Linked DNA regions of Homo sapiens: regions 1, 2, 3, 5, 6 and 7 are each linked to region 4. The links are contacts of gene promoters, found by promoter capture Hi-C in blood cells and fetal thymus (Javierre and others, 2016). All regions are on one chromosome and are shown on one strand. Each heading gives the region's core, a stretch centred on a gene start or on the middle of the fragment in contact. The rest is flanking DNA. Distances are from core to core; before and after follow the strand shown. Region 1 overlaps TMEM33 (transmembrane protein 33). Region 2 has its middle 15 kb from the start of LINC00682. Region 3 holds the start of SLC30A9 (solute carrier family 30 member 9). Region 4 holds the start of UCHL1 (ubiquitin C-terminal hydrolase L1). Region 5 has its middle 19 kb from the start of LINC00682. Region 6 holds the start of TMEM33 (transmembrane protein 33). Region 7 has its middle 31 kb from the start of LINC00682.

Evidence for each region. Contacts are between HindIII fragments. The CHiCAGO score rates a contact against its expected background, and 5 or more counts as called.
Region 1: a fragment that was not itself captured here is called in contact with the fragment with the promoter of UCHL1 in region 4 in 1 of 17 cell types (M0 macrophages); the score reaches 7.0 in M0 macrophages.
Region 2: a fragment that was not itself captured here is called in contact with the fragment with the promoter of UCHL1 in region 4 in 12 of 17 cell types (monocytes, M2 macrophages, total B cells and 9 more); the score reaches 9.6 in monocytes.
Region 3: a contact is called between the fragment with the promoter of SLC30A9 here and the fragment with the promoter of UCHL1 in region 4, in 4 of 17 cell types (M1 macrophages, M0 macrophages, M2 macrophages and 1 more). The highest score is 12.9, in M1 macrophages.
Region 5: a contact is called between a fragment that was not itself captured here and the fragment with the promoter of UCHL1 in region 4, in 2 of 17 cell types (M1 macrophages and M2 macrophages). The highest score is 5.6, in M1 macrophages.
Region 6: the fragment with the promoter of TMEM33 here is called in contact with the fragment with the promoter of UCHL1 in region 4 in 3 of 17 cell types (M2 macrophages, M0 macrophages and M1 macrophages); the score reaches 17.7 in M2 macrophages.
Region 7: a fragment that was not itself captured here is called in contact with the fragment with the promoter of UCHL1 in region 4 in 1 of 17 cell types (monocytes); the score reaches 5.5 in monocytes.

What each region holds. Positions count from the first base shown.
Region 1 is chr4:41,952,565-41,955,410 of GRCh38, forward strand. TMEM33 (transmembrane protein 33) reads left to right here. Exons shown (of 7, transcript NM_018126.3): 7 at 1,506-2,846. The coding sequence ends at 1,635. Among named protein-coding and RNA genes, the nearest start is that of TMEM33, 19 kb to the left of the region's middle. The HindIII fragment of the contact is 804 bases long and covers 998-1,801 here.
Region 2 is chr4:41,866,578-41,869,436 of GRCh38, forward strand. No RefSeq gene overlaps it. Among named protein-coding and RNA genes, the nearest start is that of LINC00682, 15 kb to the right of the region's middle. The HindIII fragment of the contact is 3,839 bases long and covers 1-2,859 here.
Region 3 is chr4:41,989,152-41,991,928 of GRCh38, forward strand. SLC30A9 (solute carrier family 30 member 9) reads left to right here and starts at 1,379. Exons shown (of 18, transcript NM_006345.4): 1 at 1,379-1,609. The coding sequence starts at 1,501. RefSeq lists enhancers at 1,051-1,130, 1,411-1,550 and a silencer at 1,260-1,479. The HindIII fragment of the contact is 8,038 bases long and covers 1-2,777 here.
Region 4 is chr4:41,255,258-41,258,239 of GRCh38, forward strand. It overlaps UCHL1 (ubiquitin C-terminal hydrolase L1), which reads left to right and starts at 1,671. Exons shown (of 9, transcript NM_004181.5): 1 at 1,671-1,752; 2 at 1,858-1,869; 3 at 2,352-2,480. The coding sequence starts at 1,720. UCHL1-DT (UCHL1 divergent transcript) reads right to left here and starts at 1,470. Exons shown (of 3, transcript NR_102709.1): 1 at 1,302-1,470. RefSeq lists a silencer at 1,787-2,546 and an enhancer at 2,381-2,881. The HindIII fragment of the contact is 2,127 bases long and covers 924-2,982 here.
Region 5 is chr4:41,900,124-41,902,823 of GRCh38, forward strand. No RefSeq gene overlaps it. Among named protein-coding and RNA genes, the nearest start is that of LINC00682, 19 kb to the left of the region's middle. The HindIII fragment of the contact is 6,769 bases long and covers 1-2,700 here.
Region 6 is chr4:41,934,059-41,936,758 of GRCh38, forward strand. It overlaps TMEM33 (transmembrane protein 33), which reads left to right and starts at 1,371. Exons shown (of 7, transcript NM_018126.3): 1 at 1,371-1,471. The coding sequence starts at 1,427. It overlaps LOC105374426 (a long non-coding RNA gene), which reads right to left and starts at 617. Exons shown (of 3, transcript NR_188374.1): 1 at 548-617. RefSeq lists enhancers at 1,211-1,390, 1,631-1,680, 1,691-1,760. The HindIII fragment of the contact is 15,520 bases long and covers 1-2,700 here.
Region 7 is chr4:41,850,536-41,853,435 of GRCh38, forward strand. No RefSeq gene overlaps it. Among named protein-coding and RNA genes, the nearest start is that of LINC00682, 31 kb to the right of the region's middle. The HindIII fragment of the contact is 5,985 bases long and covers 1-2,900 here.

The DNA.
Region 1 (2,846 bases), core at 150-2,649, 700 kb after region 4:
ACAGTTAAGACATAGGCAAAGCCCACATGGTTTTGGGCACAAACATGCAACATAAGTTGATGATAGGAGCGAGGGCAGGGAGTGGCAGGAGATGGGGCAGAAAATTAGATTGAGACTAGATTGTGGAGGGTATTGGGTGTGACACCGAGTACTTGGGCTTTAGTCGGAAGGCATAAAAGAGTCATAGTTCAGTGTATTGATCCAACTGGGAAGTAACATTTATTGAGCATCTTCCATATTGCATTTAAATTTCACCACAACTCAGAATTATTTTACAGAAGAGGAAATCTCTGAGGGACAATATGTACATTTAAGGAAATAGTGGGTGAATAAATATAACTGTCCATGTTATATATTTTAAAATATATAAAAAACACTGTCCATGTAGTATATTTTTTCTTGTTCTGTTTTAAAAAACTAGTTGAAATTGCCTAAGTTAAATGTGAAAATGATGTGACTCTAAAATATATATATATAATTTTTAAAATTTAATCTGAGGTTTTAGAGATAGCCATTTATTAAATACCTTTGTTAAATGAGTGTTTCCACCCATAAAAGATGTAGGTGTTGTTTGAGAATTTCATTGTATTTTGTGTTTTCTCTACAATGCATTCTAGTTATTCTTTTACTTCAAATTCTAATGGCTATGGTAGATTCCTTCATGAGTATTTGTTTAGCATTAGAGGCATACTTCAGAAATGTTGTGGGAGTGGTTCCAGACTACCACAATAAAGTGAATATCACAAAGCTGTCAGATGAATTTTTTGGTTTTCCAGTGCATACAGAAGTTATGTTTACACTCTACTGTAGTCTGCTAAGTGCGCAATAGCATTACCATCAGCAGTAAGGCTGTTCTGCTTTCTTATCATTCATCCGTTCACAGAAATGGGCTTTTAATTTTCTTCAGGAACTTTTCCTTTGCATTCACAGCTTGGCTATTTGGCACAAGAGGTCTAGCTTTTGGCCTGTCTTAGCTTTAGCCATGCTTTTTTCACTAAGCTTAATCATTTCTAGTTTTCATCTAAAGTAACAGACATGGGAGGCCTCCTTTCACCTGAGCACTTAGAGGCCATTACAGGGTTATTAATTGGCCTAATTTCAGTATTGTGTCTCAAAGAATAGGTAGGTCTGAGGAGAGGGAAAGAGACCAATCAGGAATGGCCTTCATGAACTGCTTCATCTTATATTTGTGCAGTTTGTGGTGCCCCAAAACAGTTACAATAGTAACACCAAAGAGATCACCGTAACAGAACAGATCACAGATCACCATAATAGATTAATAATGAAAACATTTGAAATAGTGGAAGAATTGGCAAAGTGTGACGCAGAGACATGAAGTGAGCACATGCTGTTGGAAAGTGGCACTGATAGTCTTGCTGTATGCGGTGTTGCAACAAACCTTCAATTTGTAAAAAATGAAATATCTATGGAGTACAATAAAATGAGGTAAGCCTGTGTATTGCTTTTTCCTTGTGTTTCTCAAAGAAAACTATTTTGTCTTGCAGGACCTTATTTAATGAACTGAGGATTGTTGTTGAACACATAATAATGAAACCTGCTTGCCCACTGTTTGTGAGAAGACTTTGTCTCCAGAGCATTGCCTTTATAAGCAGATTGGCACCAACAGTTCCATAGTTTAACATCTAGTTAAGCTACAAATATAGTATAAGCATTATTAGCAGCTGGTACTTCTGCTAGGGGTTGTAAATTCCAGGTGTTACACTGACCTCAATCCAATTTACATAATTTACATAAATGCATCTCGGTGGAAAAATAATCATTTTCTTGGCATGTTAAATCAAGCTTAAAAAGTTTTGAGAAAATTTTACTGCGCTGTGTTGCTAATGGTTAAAGAAGTCTGTATCTAGTGATAAATATACCAGTTTTTTTAAAAAGATGCTGTTGTGCCTATATCATGAAGTACATTAATTTCTCATGTAAAAAAAATAGCTCTAAAATTTGTTTCAACCTAATTGGTAACCTGAGTTTATATCTGGCATGAATTCATTATGGTGATACACATATGTGAATTCAGTACATTTTGAGACAGTATTCTACCATTCAGTAATTTTGGTTAATGATTTTAACACTTCTCAGTGTATTTAATTTCAAATTGTTTTTTTAATTGGTTTTATGCTGCTTTGTTAGGACAGATGTGTTTTGAATGTACCATTATAAGAAGAATTCTATGTATCTTAAACTATGATCTTCTAAAATTTTATTTCCGTAAGTACTTCTGTGGCCTTGAGTATTTTTTAAAAGGCTCAACTGTAAGCCTCTTAGCCAGTTGGATAAATATTTGGGGTCACCTAGCCATTGAAAGCAGAAAGCAGTAGTGACACAGCTTTCCCTTCAAAGAGCCATTGAGAAACATTTCTCAAACAGGAAATCCTTCTTTTACTAATGTGGACATATAGATTATTCGTATTATAGTTTGTAGAACTACCTAGTTCAGAATCTTGACTGCCAGTTTTCTTGGTTTCTTAGGCTTGAATTTTCATAGACAATTGCAACAGTTTAGATGCCTTTTGAAAGGAATGTAATGAAGATTCAGCATCTGACTATATGTGTGTCTATCCTGAAATAATAATGGAGAGTATACTGTAGATTACATGTTTACCCATCAAATCTGACTTAAAAGGTTAAATGGAAGGTTTTATAGGTAAGGTAATTGATTGGGAATGGGGTAGGGGGAGGAGTTGTGGGGGAATAATGTGCATTTCAGTCTCAACGCATAGATAAATTTAGGGGAATTGGATGTATTATTCAACTTTGATTTGGGTTGTAAAATGTGTTAAATCCTGTTCATTGAACTCCCATCAACTCTTATAAAATTCATGCTGATC
Region 2 (2,859 bases), core at 301-2,800, 610 kb after region 4:
CCAGAGCCTAGGCCCTTACCTATGGGAAATCCTATAGCTCCAGATGCTGGAATCCGAGCTCTGATAGGAAAACGCCCTAATGCTGGCATCTCTCGCTTAGCACATAGGCAAGAAAATGGGGCACGACCCCCAAATCCACTCCCTTCCAGCCTCCGAAAAATGCACCCAGGTCTTGACCCTCCACTCTTCCGCTCCCCAGCAGAACGAAAATTTCCTCAGGCCCTAGAAAGCCTCATTTATCATTCTCGTGGGGGCTCAAATGACAACGCTTCTTGTCCCAGCACGGCTGTGAATCGGGGCCCCCCACTTCTGCTCCCTTATCCTTCCTGCGCCCCTCCCGCTCCACATCCCAGCCCATAAGGAGACAAGGTGCAACAGCCAGGGAATGAGCAAGCAGGAGAAGTGGCCGAACGGATAAAGGAGGCACTGTTGTGGTTGCCGCAGCCGCTGCCCCCATTCAGGGACCGAATTGAAATGGATATTTCCCTCCTCGGCCCAGCTGAACGAGGCTCAATGCCTCAAAGATGCAGAGCTGCCTCGGTGGACATGCTCTGTGGCTGATATTATAATTTTCATAATGCGCTTTTATGTCGCGCCAGACTCCTCCGGTGAGGAGCCCGCAGAGCTGCTGAAAGGGGCTTTGAGAGGCCCGGGCGCGCGGCTGCTGCGAGCTGCGCGCCCCCCGCCGGCCTGAGTGGCACCGCGTGCCCCTGCCGGGGCGCGGCTCCTGCACTGCGGGCGCGCAGGCGGCGGCGGGCTCTGCCGGCGCCCCTTATTAGCATGCACCCTGGGTGCGCCTGGCCTGCTCCCGCTGCTTCCGGGCCTCTCTGCGCCCCTCCGAGTCTCTGCCATCCGCCTGGGTGCGAGGTCCCTGGCCTTGCTCCTGGTCAAACTCCATTCCGCTCCAGCTCAGGCTTTAGGGAAGGTCAAGGTGTTAAAATGTGGGCAGAACATTCCGGAAGCAGTCGGGGGCTGGAAGTCTTCCGACCTGAGTGGAGGCTGCTTTCCCAAGGGTCCGGAAGCAAAGGGACCCTTGCTGTGAGGGGTTTGTAGCGAAGGCAGGCATTGAGTGGGAGCCTCATCATTGCAACGAGTAAGGTGTACTATTTTGTTCTAAGCACTTAGCAAGTATTAATTGCTAAATCCTGGTCATGAGGAAACTGAACAGCAGAGAGGTTAAGTAGTTTGCCCAAGGTCGCACAACTGTTAAATGGGAGGGTCCACATTTAAAACAGGTGGTCTCAGAGTCCCTGTGTTTTTAACTCAGCGAATGGCTACTTCCTAATATCTGCTATGTGTTTGGCCACAGCAGTCAGTTCACCAGCAAGCTCATTTGCCAGATGCATAATAGGGAACAGATCAATTAGAGATTAATCAAAATGTGTGGTCCTCACCTCTACTAAGTTATTAGAGCTGACTGGTACTGGGTAATAGTTCAAATCACCTCTTTTTCCCTCTTCTTTATTCCAGCTTCACAGTAGGAATTTGCATGAAATACTTAGAGCCTCTGAGAGCCTAAATCAGACAAATACTTTGCCTTAGTTACCAATAAACACATTAAAAATTAATAAATATGTATCATGGTGAAACTAAAAAAAAAAGAAAGAAAAAAGGAGAAAATCTGCATTATAAAAGAACTTTCCAAATAAACTCATCATTTTTATTGGCCCTGGATGGAGAATTTAAAAATATAACTATAACTTAACCTTAACATATAGTAGGCCATGTTATAGCAGACTCCGGGCTACCATTCTTAAATGATCCCCTCCATCAAACTTGGAAATTGTTCATAAGAAATATCATGGAAAAGTTGTAAGACTGTAGTTAATTCTGTACCCAATGCCAAAGTTATAAAAAGTTTATCATAATTGCTCTCTTAAGTAGAGAGTCTGCTATTAAGGTTGCCAAATACAAACTTTATTTCTTTTGAAGAGGCCCAGCATGTGTATTGATAACAGAAGAGAACAATCAGTATATGTTCCCCTAATTCGTATTTGTTCAAAAGGTAGACAAGTACCAAATATATATATATACATATATATACATATATATACACATATATATACATATATACACACATATATACATATATACACATATATACATATATACACATATATATACATATATACACATATATACATATATACACATATATACATATATACACATATACATATATACATATATATATACATATACATATATACATATATACATATACACATATATATACACATATATACACATATATATACACATATATATACACACATATATATACACATATATATATACACATATATATACACATATATATATACACATATATATATATACACACACACACACACAAGCCTCAAATTTTTAAGTAGGAATCAAATAAACAGTGCATCTGCAGCTCGATATACCTGCTATGAATATCTGTCCTGCGAGCAATTGCCCCATAAACCCTCTGGGCCATATCATAGCCCCATTTGTCTATGACACTTTTCCTTGTCATAGTTAGAGGGACATTATGGTGTTGGCAATGCCCACCATGCACTGGGTAACAGAAATTAACCTCATGCCTTCATCTGCAATAATACCACAAGGTCAGTTAAGAATCAGTGTCAGATTGGGTTTTTATTTATCTATAAAGGCCTTTAGGGCTTAGTCTAAACTTGAAAATATTTATGACCTAGAAACTAGCAATAGATCTGAAAACACAACCCACAGATTCCATCCCAAGAGTTATTATATTTTATTCCTTAAACCAGCCTCATTGTTTTTGTTTATGAATCTGCTGGTGTAGCCCTGCATATCTAATGGAATGATCCCAAATTACAGCTAAAATCTGTTCTTCCTGATTTGTTGCAA
Region 3 (2,777 bases), core at 129-2,628, 730 kb after region 4:
CGAGTTGAAACCAAAGCCATTTTAAGAATCCAAAATATGAGATTAGTTTTGTTCAAAAAGAATTATCCATAAAAGTTAATAGATGTTTGCATAGTTACCATAAAATAAGAGGTAAGCCTTTATGTATTTTTACTTCATAAAGTTGAATTTCTATTAAAATCTATTACAAGAAAGGGAAAGTAACTTTCCAGTAATATTCAGATTTTTTAGTAATATTGAGCCTACATTTATGGGACATCATTTTTTAATGTTTGTCCACTGAATATTTTAAGTTATGTTTGTCATAGGAAATTAAATTTGCTTACCATTCTTAACGATAATCTCTTTCCTCATTTGGTTATACTTATCTCAATTAGTATAAGAGACTTGTTGATTTTTTTAAAAATTAAGGACATACTAAATTTCCCCGAGATAGTTATTTTGCAGTAATATAGATAAGCGACTCAGATTAACTTTAAAACAAACCACCATACATTCCATTCAATTTATTTTTGCCAGGCATTGTTTTAGCGGCTTTATACAGCCATGTACAAAATAGACAAGATTCCAGCATCATGATGCTTATTTTCTATTCTAGGACACAAAATAGAAAAAAAAATCTCAAATAGTGATAAGCGTTTTGAAGAAAAGTATATAGGACAGCCGGGTAGAGAATGACCAGGACTACCATAGCTAGGGTGGTCAAGGAAGGCCTCTCTTGAGTTTGAGTTAAGAGCTGAATGAGCATGGCAGAGAGAAACAGTTAACGTGGATACTGTTCAGGTTTCTTTCTCCCTGGGACCAAAATGTTTCGAAGTCTGCATACCTCCGTTTACCCTAACTTGTCATGAACATAAAACCTCTTATATTGCAGGCAAAAATCTGAGGTTCACAGATTAGTAGGGCAAGTAGCTGATTCCGAAGTGTGTACTTGCCTTTATGATACTGGATACACACTGGTGTTAACAAGGAGAACGATGTACGTGGCAGACGTTCGGAGAGTACTGGACATGTTGGTTCTAATTTGGGTTTATCCTGGCAGGCTCTAGGTAGAGAGGCTCAGAAAACCTGCGTCCATCCTTCCCATCTTTCCTCCCATTTCCGAAACCACGGCCCCGGTTTCGAGTCCAGAAAAAAAGGAATAAGTAGAACTCCCAAAGGACAGCTTTCCTGGCTGAACAAGATGTAAACAGTTTACGTGATTTCCAACCAAGCGCAAAAGTACAGGTGCAAAAGAAGACGGCAGACACCAAACTTCCCCTGCAGCCACGCCCTCCCCACTTTGGGAGTCTGGGTCCCCGGGAAGGAAGGCCTCCCTATTGGTGCTCAACGTGTTACGTCACTTCCGCTACCTCCACGGCAGGCGTCGCTAAATGACGTTGCCGTTTCCGGGTCACCCAGGCAGCTTGTGGCGGCGAAGCCATCGGTGTTCGCTGATGTCCAGTCTATGGAGTCAGTTGGTACCGGTGGCGGCGCGGAGGCAGAAGGCGGTGTCCGAGTAGGGGCCTCTGCCCCACCAGGATGTTACCCGGCTTGGCCGCCGCCGCGGCCCACAGATGTAGCTGGTCCTCCCTGTGCCGGCTCCGTCTGCGATGCAGGGCGGCGGCCTGTAATCCCAGCGACCGCCAGGGTGAGTGTCCCGCGCTGGCCGCTGGCTCCGTAGAAGCCGAACTGGAGGGCCAGGCTGGGCTCGGCGCCTCGCCTGGGGCAATTCGCCCACTTGCCTTTCGCCAACCTCAGAACCTTCCTTTCTGGCCTCCGCCTTTCCAGTTCAGCCTGCGCAGCCCGCGGGGGTCCTGACAGGTCTCTGACTCTGATGCCTTCTGCAGCCCTAGCATGGCCCCCGCGGGAACTTGTGGGCACCTCGCGGGCCGGATTGCACCTCTGAAGCCTACCGCTTTGTACCAAACAAAATGTTACGTGCGCATCGCGGTGTCCCGCGGTTACTCACCTCCGCGGTTGGAAATTGCGGACTCCGCAAAGTTCCAGGGTCTTTGGAGCTTTCCAGCGCACCTTCATTTAGCACTTGGTTGAGATTTTCTTGGCCTTCTTTTTCTTACTCTCCCAACTTATTTTCTTAAATTTTCTAAAAGGAAGGAGGGGTGCTACTCACTACGGATCTTTTGGAAGAAGTACGAAAGTATCCGACAATCATTGAATGAACCCAGTTTGGGTCCGAAAAACAAAGAAACTCTTCAGTTCGGCTGAGCAGTCTTTTTGGTGAAAAGGTGGCAGTTGTAGTGGTAACCCAGAAAAAAAGGTGGTTGAAGAGAATTTTCGTCTCTCTCAACATTCTTTTCTGACTCAAATTTAAATGGTTTGAGAGTTTCCAAAATAACATTGAACTAATCAGGCTTACCTTCGTTTTTGCCGTAGCTTGACACACATTGCTTGACACTGAGAACTGATAGGATCTCTGAGGGAGAAGACAGAACTAAGTCCACCCTTAACCTAATCCCTCCATTCTTGGGATGCAGAGAGTATTTACCGAAACATTCATGTTCGAAGCCAGGTGTGGTGGTGCGCTCCTGTAGTCCAGCTACTCGGGAGACTGAGGCAGGCAGATCTTTTGAGCCCAATAGTTCTAGGCTAGCCTTGGCAACATAGTGAGCTGTCTGTAAAAACATAGGTTTGAAAAAACCTGTAACATGTTCGTGACCTCCTGAAAGAAGTCGGAAGTTGCAGTCATTCGAGATTTTATGTAATATAAGCTATAGTAACTATGCTGTGGATATAAATTAGAATATATTCGTATCTTTTATTTGCAATAAATGTAAAGCTGAATCTTAGAATTTCAA
Region 4 (2,982 bases), core at 421-2,920:
GTTTATTGTGTTCATCTTTGTATGCCTAATTCCAAACTTTCCAAGCTCGGCACCCAGCACACAGTAGGTTCTTAATATTTGTTGAGTGAATGAATAAATGAAGTAAATTGGAAATGTAATTTGTCTTTGTCTAAAGGCAAGAACTCATTCAATATAACCTAGTCACTTGTCTTGACCTTCACCTCTTTTTTTCTTTAACAACCTTATTGAGGGAAAATTTACATACCATAAGATTCACCCATTAAGCTCCTCTTACTAATTTTTTTCTCTCTCATTTTTGTGTGTGAAGGTCATTTTCTAATGGCAAAAATGGAAAGAAAATAGAAGTAGAATGTTGTGGAATCTTAGATAAAGAATGGGCTCTTGGAGCCCAGTTTAGCAGGGTTTACTTCTCAGTTTTACTTTTCAATTGTGACCGTAAGCAAATTAACTTCTCTAGGCCTGGGATTCTGATCTGTAAAATTGCACTAATATGAGTCTCTTCACGGCTCCTCTAAGGATTAAATGAGAGACACATGCAAAGGATCCCCAAAAACAATAACTCAAAAAATGTTGATTCCCTCCCTTCCCTCTGTCATCTGTTAACCTCAACTTCCTAAATAGAAGGTCTATTCTTTTACCATCATCATTATTCTCTTCGGTGCCTATTTTTAAAAAATACTCAACCTTCTTGCTTCCTTCGCTACCTAAGTATTTCTGCAAGCCCACTTTGTTCTGCAGCTTAGCTTTCCTGGCACAATTCTTATAGATTTTGGTCCCTTTTAAAATTCATTCTTCAGCAAATGCTTTCTCTCTCCATCTTTTGACTAGAGATCATTAGAGATCACCTGAGATCATTAGAGAACAGTGGTTTCCTTGGTTGCCATTCCCTTTCTTCTTCATTGGGAGTATTCTGCGGTGAACTCAGACATTTTATTTTTCAAAGCTTCCCATTCTTTTAAAAATGCTTTTCCTTTTACAGCCTCTCGCTCAAAATCATACCCATCTTTTCCCTGGATCTGTTTTCTCAAGTCTCCAATCGCCTGCCTTCTTTGTGTCTTGTATTACCCTCACATCCCCCAGCTTTCTACTGCTCTCCCAGGACCAACCATTTCTTCCGCGGGAGTCACATTACATCAGCATTCCTAATGCAGTATCTGTTATCTACCAGATTCTGTTTTATTCTAGGTAGTCACTTAAAAACGAACCTCGGTACTGGTCTGACTTAACATGGAGGAGGAATTGTCTAAGGTTAAACGCAAACTGCTGAGAGATTTGGGGCGGGGGGCACACATTTACATTCATTCGTATTAAATATATACCTGTTGAATTTGTGCTTTTTCTCAAATGCTTCAGAGACTCGAGCTTTAGAGTAATTGGGATGGTGAAAGGATGGGTTTCCAGAAACTTCGCCCAAAATTAAAGACTCCATCAAAAGGACTGCTCCATACACTCAAGGAACACCCACCAACAAATCCCGTCTCCACAACCACCAGATTATCTCACCGGCGAGTGAGACTGCAAGGTTTGGGGGCCCGGCCGTACCACTCCGCGCTGCGCACGGGGGGTTCGTACCCATCTGGCCGCGACCGTCCGTTTCCCCCTCGCTTGGTTCTGCCCCTGCTCCCCCTGCACAGGCCTCACAGTGCGTCTGGCCGGCGCTTTATAGCTGCAGCCTGGGCGGCTCCGCTAGCTGTTTTTCGTCTTCCCTAGGCTATTTCTGCCGGGCGCTCCGCGAAGATGCAGCTCAAGCCGATGGAGATCAACCCCGAGGTGAGCGCCAGGTGCACCGCTACCCGGAGAGCGCGAGGCCGAGGGAGGGGGAGCCGAGTCGCTGATCGGTTCGGTTTTGCCTTTTTCTTTGCATTTGCCTTTCAGATGCTGAACAAAGTGAGTGGCGTCTCGCGCCGTCTCTGGCCCCCTCCCCCGCGAGCGCCGAGGCGGGGGCGCCCACCGGTTCCGGCTGCTGGCAGGGACCAAGCCGCCCGCTGCGAGCACCGGAGACGGCCGGGCTGGGGCGTGGGCTGGGCGCCTTTCCTGGGCCCCTGCATTTAGCGGGTGACTCTACGAAACCGGTCACGGGGAGACGGAGGGGGCTGCGCCCCGTGGCGAGCGAGCGCCAGGCGGAGCTCCCGAGGGCGTGGCGCGGGCAGCACAGACTCGGCTGCACGGGCTTCGCGGGCGCCACGTGTGGGCCGCGCTTTGTGCTGTGTCATTGCGCCGGCCCGGGTGGGGGTGGCAGGGCGGGACTGGGGCTCCTCCCAGGCTCGGGTGCGGGCGCGGAGGGCGCGCGCCTCCTGGCCCCGCCCCCTGGCAGGTGCCCGCGACCCGCGTGTCCCCGTGCGCCTGGCCGCCTTGTCTCCTCTCCGCAGGTGCTGTCCCGGCTGGGGGTCGCCGGCCAGTGGCGCTTCGTGGACGTGCTGGGGCTGGAAGAGGAGTCTCTGGGCTCGGTGCCAGCGCCTGCCTGCGCGCTGCTGCTGCTGTTTCCCCTCACGGCCCAGGTAGGGCGTGGGGCCCAGGATGCGCCGGCCGCCGGCAGTGCACGCCGCTCCCCAGCTTGAGTCCTCGGGGGCTCCCCGCCCCGCCCCCTCCCCTGTAGGTGATGCGGGGCGCGCCTACAAGGAAGGGAGGAGCCTGCATTTTCGTGGTACCTACTCCCTGGGCTCCTGTTCCAGCGGTGCCTGTCGCCTTCTTGCCCATCCGTCCACAATTGCCTTAAATTTGGAAGAGAGGCAGTATCTCAGTTCCATCTATCCCGTTATCCAGGGAAATCATTCATCCTACTCATGAGTTCCCTCGAACTTGGGCTTTTTCGAGCCTCCGGTTCCGGGGAATGGCTGCTGGTTTCCCTTTAAGGGCTATAACCTGTCAACTCATTGTTTGCTTCTCAGACTCCCACCTAGCTGTAGAATGGAGGGGGAAGGGCTGACCTAAATCGCAGGGAAACAATTAGGTTCGCTAATTCTCCGCCTCCATTACTTGGGTTTCTGATGGTCTTAAGGG
Region 5 (2,700 bases), core at 113-2,612, 640 kb after region 4:
AAATGTTTTAAGAAAAAGTTCATGTTCTCTTACAAACAATTTTGGATTATCCATATTAAGCAAATATCTCAGGGTAGATCATTGTTCCTTATGATAATTGATTTAAGCCTTATTACTAGATGGTATAAAATCCCAGAATTGACAACTGAACCTACCAGAAGCACAGAGTGATAAATTTTTCACAAACACTTTGAAATATTGATAAGTAGAAAATGTGTCTGTATTTCTCTTTTCCAATACATTTAACAGTGGTTGTATTTTAGAATGTAGGTGTTCTATTTATGCTGTTTAACTATTGATAATGTCTCTTTATGTATGAGCTGATATTTGTAAATGTGTGTATATTTATAAACATATATTTGTGTGTATATATGTACACACATAGATTGTATATACACATATTTATTATCATTCATGTCTGTTTTTGAAGAGGCTGAATTGTGTGCACAATTTCTGAACTTTTTTTAATATATATATAGTTTAAGTTCTGTAATACATGTGCAGAACATGCAGGATTGTTACCCAGGTATACACATGCCATGGTGGTTTGCTGCACTGATCAACCCGTCATCTACATTAGATATTTCTCCTAATGCTCTCCCTCCCCTAGCCCCCAAACCCCTGACAGGCCCTGGTGTGTGATGTTCCCCTCCCTGTGTCCATGTGCTCTCATTGTTCAATTCCCACCTGTGAGTGAGAACATGTGGTGTTTGGTTTTCTGTTCCTGTGTTAGTTTGCTGAGAATGATGGTTTCCAGTTTCATCCATGTCCCTGCAAAGGACATGAACTTATCCTTTTTTATGGCTGCATAGTATTCCATGGTGTATATGTGCCACATTTTCTTTATCCAGTCTATCATTGATGGGCATTTGGGTTGGCTCCAAGTCTTTGCTATTGTGAACAGTTCTTCAATAAACATATGTGTGACAGTTCTTCAATAAACATATGTGTGCATGTGTCTTTATAGCAGCATGATTTATAGTCCTTTGGGTATATACCCAGTAATGGGATTGCTGGGTCAAATGGTATTTCTGGTTCTAGATCCTTGAGGAATCGCCACGCTATCTTCCACAATGGTTGAACTAATTTACACTCCCACCAGCAGTGTAAATGCGTTCCTATTTCTCCACATCCTCTCCAGCACCTGTTGTTTCCTGACTTTTTAATGATTAGCATTGTAACTGGCGTGAGATGGTATCTCACTGTGTTTTTGATTTGCATTTCTCTAATGACCAGTGATGATGAGCTTTTTGTTATATATTTGTTGGCTGCATAAATATCTTCTTTTGAGAAGCACTTGTTCATATCCTTTGCCCACTTTTTAATGGGGTTGTTTGTTTCTTTCTTGTAAATTTGTTTAAGTTCCTTGTAGATTCTGGATATTAGCCCTTTGTCAGACGGATAGATTGCAAAAGTTTTCTCCCATTCTGTAGGTTGCCTGTTCACTCTGATGACAGTTTCTTTTGCTGTGCAGAAGCTCTTTAGTTTAATTAGATCCCATTTGTCAATTTTGGCTTTTGTTCCCATTGCTTTTGGTGTGATAGTCATGAAGTCCTTCCCCGTGCCTATGCCCTGAATGGTACTGCCTAGGTTTTCTTCTAGGGTTTTTACGGTTTTAGGTCTTACGTTTAAGTCTTTAATCCATCTTGAGTTAATTTTTGTGTAAGGTATAAGGAAGGGGTCTAGTTCCAGTGTTCTGCATATGGCTAGCCAGGTTTTCCCAACACCATTTATTAAATAGGGAATATTTCCCCATTGCTTGTTTTTGTCAGGTTTGTCAAAGATCTGATGGTTGTAAATGTGTGGCATTATTTCTGAGGTCTCTGTTCTGTTCCATTGGTCTATATATCTGTTTTGGTACCAGTACCATGCTGTTTTGGTTACTGTAGCCTTGTAGTATAGTTTGAAGTCAGGTAGCATGATACATCCAGCTTTGTTTTTTTTTTTTTTTTTTTGCTTAGGATTGTCTTAGCTATACAGGCTCTTTTTTGGTTCCATATGAAATTTAAAGTAGTTTTTTCTAATTCTGTGAAGGAAGACAATGGTAGCTTCGTGGGGATAGCATTTAATTTATACTTTGGGCAGTTTGGCCATTTTCATGATATTGATTCTTCCTATCCATGAGCATGAAAAGTTTTTCCACTTGTTTGTGTCCTCTCTTATTTCCTTGAGCAGTGGTTTGTAATTCTACACATCCTTCACATCCCCTGTAAGTTGTATTCCTAGGTATTTTATTCTCTTTGTAGCAATTGTGAATGGGAGTTCACTCATGATTTGGCTCTCTGTTTGTCTATTATTGTTGTATAGGAATGCCTGTGATTTTTGCACATTGATTTTGTATCCTGAGACTTTGCTGAAGTTGCTTATCAGCTTAAGGAGATTTGGGGCTGAGATGATGGGGTTTTCTAAATATAAAATCATGTCATCTGCAAACACAGACAATTTGACTTCCTCTCTTCCTATTTGAATACCCTTTATTCTTTCTCCTGCCTGATTGCCCTGGCCAGAACTTGCAATACTGTGTTGAATAGGAGTGGTGAGAGAAAGCATCCTTGTCTTGTGCTTGTTTTCAAAGGGAATGCTTCCAGCTTTTGCCCATTCAGTGTGATACTGGCTGTGGGTTTGTCATAAATAGCTCTTATTATTTTGAGATACCTTTCATCAATATCTAGTTTATTGAATTTTTAGCATGAAGGGGTT
Region 6 (2,700 bases), core at 121-2,620, 680 kb after region 4:
GAACCTAATGCCCTTTCTCGCTGACTTCCTAGAACTAAATTGAAGGAAAATCCTTACTGTCCACGCTTAAGTGAATAAAGGGCCAGATACTACTCCCTTTGCAAGCCCCAACCTGTTCTGCGCAGATTTGGGAAATTGAAAGTACCTCTGATTGGTTGCTTTTTGTAACCAATCAGACGTTTGCATAGAAGTGTAACTTTGTAACTTCTTCAGCCTCTGATTGGTTGCTTTGCGCAACCATTCAGACTGATTGCGGGCCACCACTTCATTTACATGAAGTGAACTCCAAGTGGCCAATGGGAAACCTCTAGGGGGTATTTGGACCCGAGAAGACTCTGTATCCAGGGCCCTTGAGCTGCTGTCTCACTCTCCCACACTCTGGAGTGTACTTTCATTTTCAACAAATCTCTGCTTTTGTTGCTTTATTCTTTCCTTGCTTTGTGCGTTTTGTCCAATTCTATGTTCAAAACGCCAAGAACTTGGACACCCTACACCAGTAACACTTTCAGCCAACTTTTTGTCGTTCAAGATCAAGGCCCGGACTTACCTTTTCCAGGAAACCTCCCCAGATCCCTTCTGATTTAGGTACCGTCCTCTGTGCTCCCTGTGATTAAATCAGCCTCTACACATATTACACAATCACTATGCTCTGATTTCCGTTTACTTGTTTCTCTTTTGCAATCTGTGTCATATTCCTCTTTTTATCCGCCGTGCCAAGTATGGAGCCTGTCACATAGCAGGCCTCATAAATACTTATTGAAAGAATTAATAATAGACGTAGAACCAACGGGCTTAGTAAGCCCCTGGAGAAAGGAATCAAAGATGTTTCTGAGGCCTCTATATCAGGAAGTGCGGAAATTTCATGGTTTGAGAATGGGCAGGAAAGATCATTTGTGAGCTGTATTTAATGCAAAAGTTGCTCCCCCATCCTGATTTCTTAGCTCACTGGGCCAATCGGCGGAAGGACAGGTGGGGCTCAAATTAGGAGAAAAAAACCACACTTCCCGTCATGCCTCTGGGCACCGCTCCCGTTTCCCCCTCTTTGTCACCGCCTCTTCCCCACGGAAATGAAAGGAGCACTTCCGGGTTCGGCAATAACCTGGAGCCGGCGGCGTAGGTTGGCTCTTTAGGGCTTCACCCCGAAGCTCCACCTTCGCTCCCGTCTTTCTGGAAACACCGCTTTGATCTCGGCGGTGCGGGACAGGTACCTCCCGGCTGCTGCGGGTGCCCTGGATCCAGTCGGCTGCACCAGGCGAGCGAGACCCTTCCCTGGTGGAGGCTCAGAGTTCCGGCAGGGTGCATCCGGCCTGTGTGTGGCGCGAGGCAGGGAAGCCGGTACCCGGGTCCTGGCCCCAGCGCTGACGTTTTCTCTCCCCTTTCTTCTCTCTTCGCGGTTGCGGCGTCGCAGACGCTAGTGTGAGCCCCCATGGCAGATACGACCCCGAACGGCCCCCAAGGGGCGGGCGCTGTGGTAAGTGCGAGGGCAGGGTAGTCTGGCTTGATTTGCAAGAGTTAGGAAGAAGCAGGAAGCGTTGCGAGTCCCGAGGCGTTCCAGAAGCTCAGTGCATTCAGGAATGGGATTAATGAGTTGGGGTGGGGAAGTTGGAGCGGGGAGAGGGGAGGTCCTGAGCGAAGATATGGAGGGAACTACAAGTTTGTTTCTGAAGCGACAATAGGCTGACCTGGAGCTGGTGGCCCCCACCTGTATGCCATGGAAATTGGGCCTTCTTTCCTCTTCTCCCACCTCGGTCTTTTGTTTACCGTAGGCCCCAAGGTTAAAGATGCCGCATGAGATTGTGCCATGACACACATGATCCATGACACACACCACGTGGAGCACACGAGTGCCGGCAAAGAACGTTTCTGCCTAGTTTATACAATCGTATATAGAAATTATGCAAAGGGAGGAGAGCGGTGGTCTTTTTCTTCTTCACTTTGTTCTTTATGAAGAGAAATATCATTATGCTTTTGTAATTTTTTTAAGATGCTGATCTGGAGCTAACAAGTTATTTGTGCCCGGAGCATTGCTGTCCTCTACTTTTTAATCCATAAGTAGTTAAGTATTATTCTGTGTGACCACAATGCAGTTACCACATTTGGGAAATATTACCTAATATAAAATCCATGTGCAAATTTCCATAATTGTCCTTTAAAGCTGCTTTCTCTTCATCTGGGATTCTGTCAAAAAGCATGCATCGATGGGCTGGCGCAGTGGCTCACTCCTGTAAGCCCAGAACTTTGGGAGTCCAAGGCGGGAGGATCGCTTGAGTTCAGGAGTTAGAGACCAGCCTTGGAAACATAGCGAGACCTCATCTCTACTAGAAATCAAAGAAATTAGGCGGGGCGTGGTGGCTCACGCCTGTAATCTCAGCACTTTGGGAGGCCAAGGCGGGTGGATCGCTTGCGCCCGAGAAGTTGAAGCTGCCGTGAGCCAAGATCGCGCCACTGCACTCCAGCCTGGGTGATAGAGCAAAACCTTCTCTCAAAACAAACAAACAAACAAACAAACATAAATTAGCCGGTCGTGGAGGTGCGCTCCTATAGTCCCAGCATAGTCCCAGCTACTCAGGAGGCTGAGGTGGGTTGTGCTTTTGCGCTCCAGCCTGGGGTGACAGAGCGAGACCCTATCTCAGAAAGCATGCATTCAATTTACTGGCCATATCTTGTTTACTGCCTTTTAATCTAGAACAGTTCTGCCCT
Region 7 (2,900 bases), core at 26-2,525, 590 kb after region 4:
ACTTACTATGTGCCAAATAATGTGCTAGATGCTGGAAATTCAATGTCATGGCAAACAAAATCCACTTTCGTTAAGTGAAATGTGACAAACCACTTATTCTGATAACTCTTCCCACTAGAAACATTTTTAAATGATGTAAAGGTGTTTTTCCTTCTTAGAAAGGTAAAATGTATATTCAGAGAAATGCAAATATCTTGTGTTTATCTTGATGAATTTTTGCAAACTGGACAGATTTGTGTAACCAGCACCCAGACTAAGACAGAACATGTCTCAGCAGATACATGTTTTAAAAAAAGAAAGAACAAATTATCAGCACCACAAATGCCTCCCTTGAGTTTCATTTCAGTTACTAATCCTCCAAGAATAAACACTACGCTGACTTCTAACAGCATAGATTTTGAATTTTATGTAAATGAAATCACAAACTATGTTCTCTTTTGTGTCTGGGTTCTTTATTTATGCTTGCGGAATACATTCATGTTATTACATGTAATTGTACTTTGTTCATTCCCAATCTCGGTATAGTGGTGTAAACTATACGTAATATAAACATGCCACAATTTATTTAGCCATTCTGTTGATGGGTGTTTGTATAGTTTCTACTTTTAAGGCTACTATGAATAAAGCTGCTGTGAACATTCTTATAAGTGTCTTTTGGAGAATTTGTATATATCTTTCTGTTGGTTAAACACCCAAGAATGAAATTGTTGCATCATAGGTGTGCATAGGGTTAGCCTTAGTATATACTGCCAAACAGTTTTCCAAAGTGGTTGTACAAATTTACCTCCCCATACAACTATCTGTGAGAGTTCTTTTATATTTTTTAAACTTTGTAAATGCATCAAGGAGTAAGTAAAATAAGTAAGAAATATCCACAGGGCAAAAATTAAATAAAGCGGGAATCCAGAAAAGTATGTAGGGCACTGAAGTCAATTACCATCAGGAAGTATTTGCTGAGCCCACATGATTTGGGACTTGGGATTTCATGGCCTTAAGGGACATGGAGGATGAGAGACAAAGTGTTCGGGTGAAAGTGAAGTGGAAATAAACCCATTCTCCAAGAGGATGGCAAGAAAACTTCCTTTCTTGAACCTTGGCATTGAGTAGAGGAGCGCAGAGAGAAACCTCTCCTTCACCACCTCCACCATAGATTGTAGTGAAAGCTGGCCTTCAAAATGGTTTGTATTCCATTCACTGAAAGATAACTGAAAAGAAAAAAAAAGAGCTCATAGTTCAAATTCTTATTACTTTACAGATCTGAAAAACCTCAAGCCTAGAATTTAAAGTAGTTTTGAATGGGTGGCTTACCCAAGGAACCTGGGAAAAAAACCCTTCAAGCCAGACTTCAAATAAATTCCCAAGTAATTACCCAAGGAATAAGAGTTCTTGGTCAAAAATCACAGAACACACAAAAAACCAAGACACCACGAGCAAGAATTATTGGAAATAGTAGACAGCAGCATTGGAATTACCAAACAAAATTGACTATACATAATATCATTGGAGTTTCCATGGCAAATAATTTCTATTTCTGTCACTCAAGACCACGTTATTTTGTGATTTTCTGGTACTTTGAGTGAGAGTAAAGTTCACTAAGTGATTTTCTATTTCCTTGGCAAAAATTATTCTATTCAGATGTTTTCCAATTTCAGACCTTTAGATACCTCCTTAATGATTACTTCCATCTCATGATATACTATGCTATTATTTACTCAGTATTTCTTTTAAAATCGATTTATTTTTAGAAAATGTATATTCCTACTTTAGCCTAGCCCTAAGTGATAATATCTCAGAACCATGATGTACAAGTTGTGTTTGTGTTTCAAATACAATTTAAACACTTAATGACTAACATTTCAAATATTTGTCCAGGTATTATGCAAAACAATCTTAAACACTACCAGGGTTACATGAACTACACCATACAAAACTAACCTAGAGGTAGGTGGTGTGTGCCTGTAGTCCCAGCTACTCAGGAGGCTGAGGTGGGAGGACTGCTTGAGCCCAGGAGTTACCTAGGCAACAAAGGGAGACCCTATTTTCGTTTAAGAAAAAGAAAAACTAGCTTGGAGTAGAACAACTGGAATAGGTGCATTTCTTTTGGGGGAAAGAAACAGGCTAGGACAAGGTGCAGGCTGAGGGGAGCGACAGAAGGAATAGTGTAGATACATGTGGAAAAGGGGAAGATGAATGGCAAAAAGCAAAGAGCAGGGAAATACCAAAGATGAACCTCCTTAACTTACAGCTGTGCCTCGGAATTGACCCAAGTTCACTGATTGTCACAGATAGAGGCTGCCTTAGGAGTCTTCATGTTCAGCAGTGATCAACTGCATTCACACTGCCACACTGTTCACAGATGATGCTGTCAGGCTGACACACCCCCATTCCCAGGGCACTGGCTCTAACAAACAACTATGTCTCCCCACTCAAGAAAGAGTCTTCAAGAGCACACAAATGAAATTTTTTCTAGGTTATTTTAAGATAAAATTTAAATTCATAAATTTTTATACTTTATTTGTACATTTCAAATTACTTTCAATACATTTTACAACTTAAGACAGAATCGATTCCAGTCACCCTATTTTACAGAAGAAAAAATCAACCCAAGAGAGTTGATTTTTCTGATCTTCCTCCTATGCTCTGCCACGAGGTCCTATGTCCTCTTTTCTCAATTAGAGATTAAAACATGATGGATTTGGTCTTTCAGCCAGTTGTCACATTTTCTTAGGTAACAATTTTTCAAATAATGAACGAATGCTACCAATAATGAAAATCTGCATGATAGAAACCAGGTTTTTCTGGCCTAAATAGGTCCCTCAGAGTAAGAAAGCCTCCATTTGACTCAAGAAGAGTCACCTATGGAGGACACGTTCAAGTCCATTTGGCCTTTGGGTCTTATC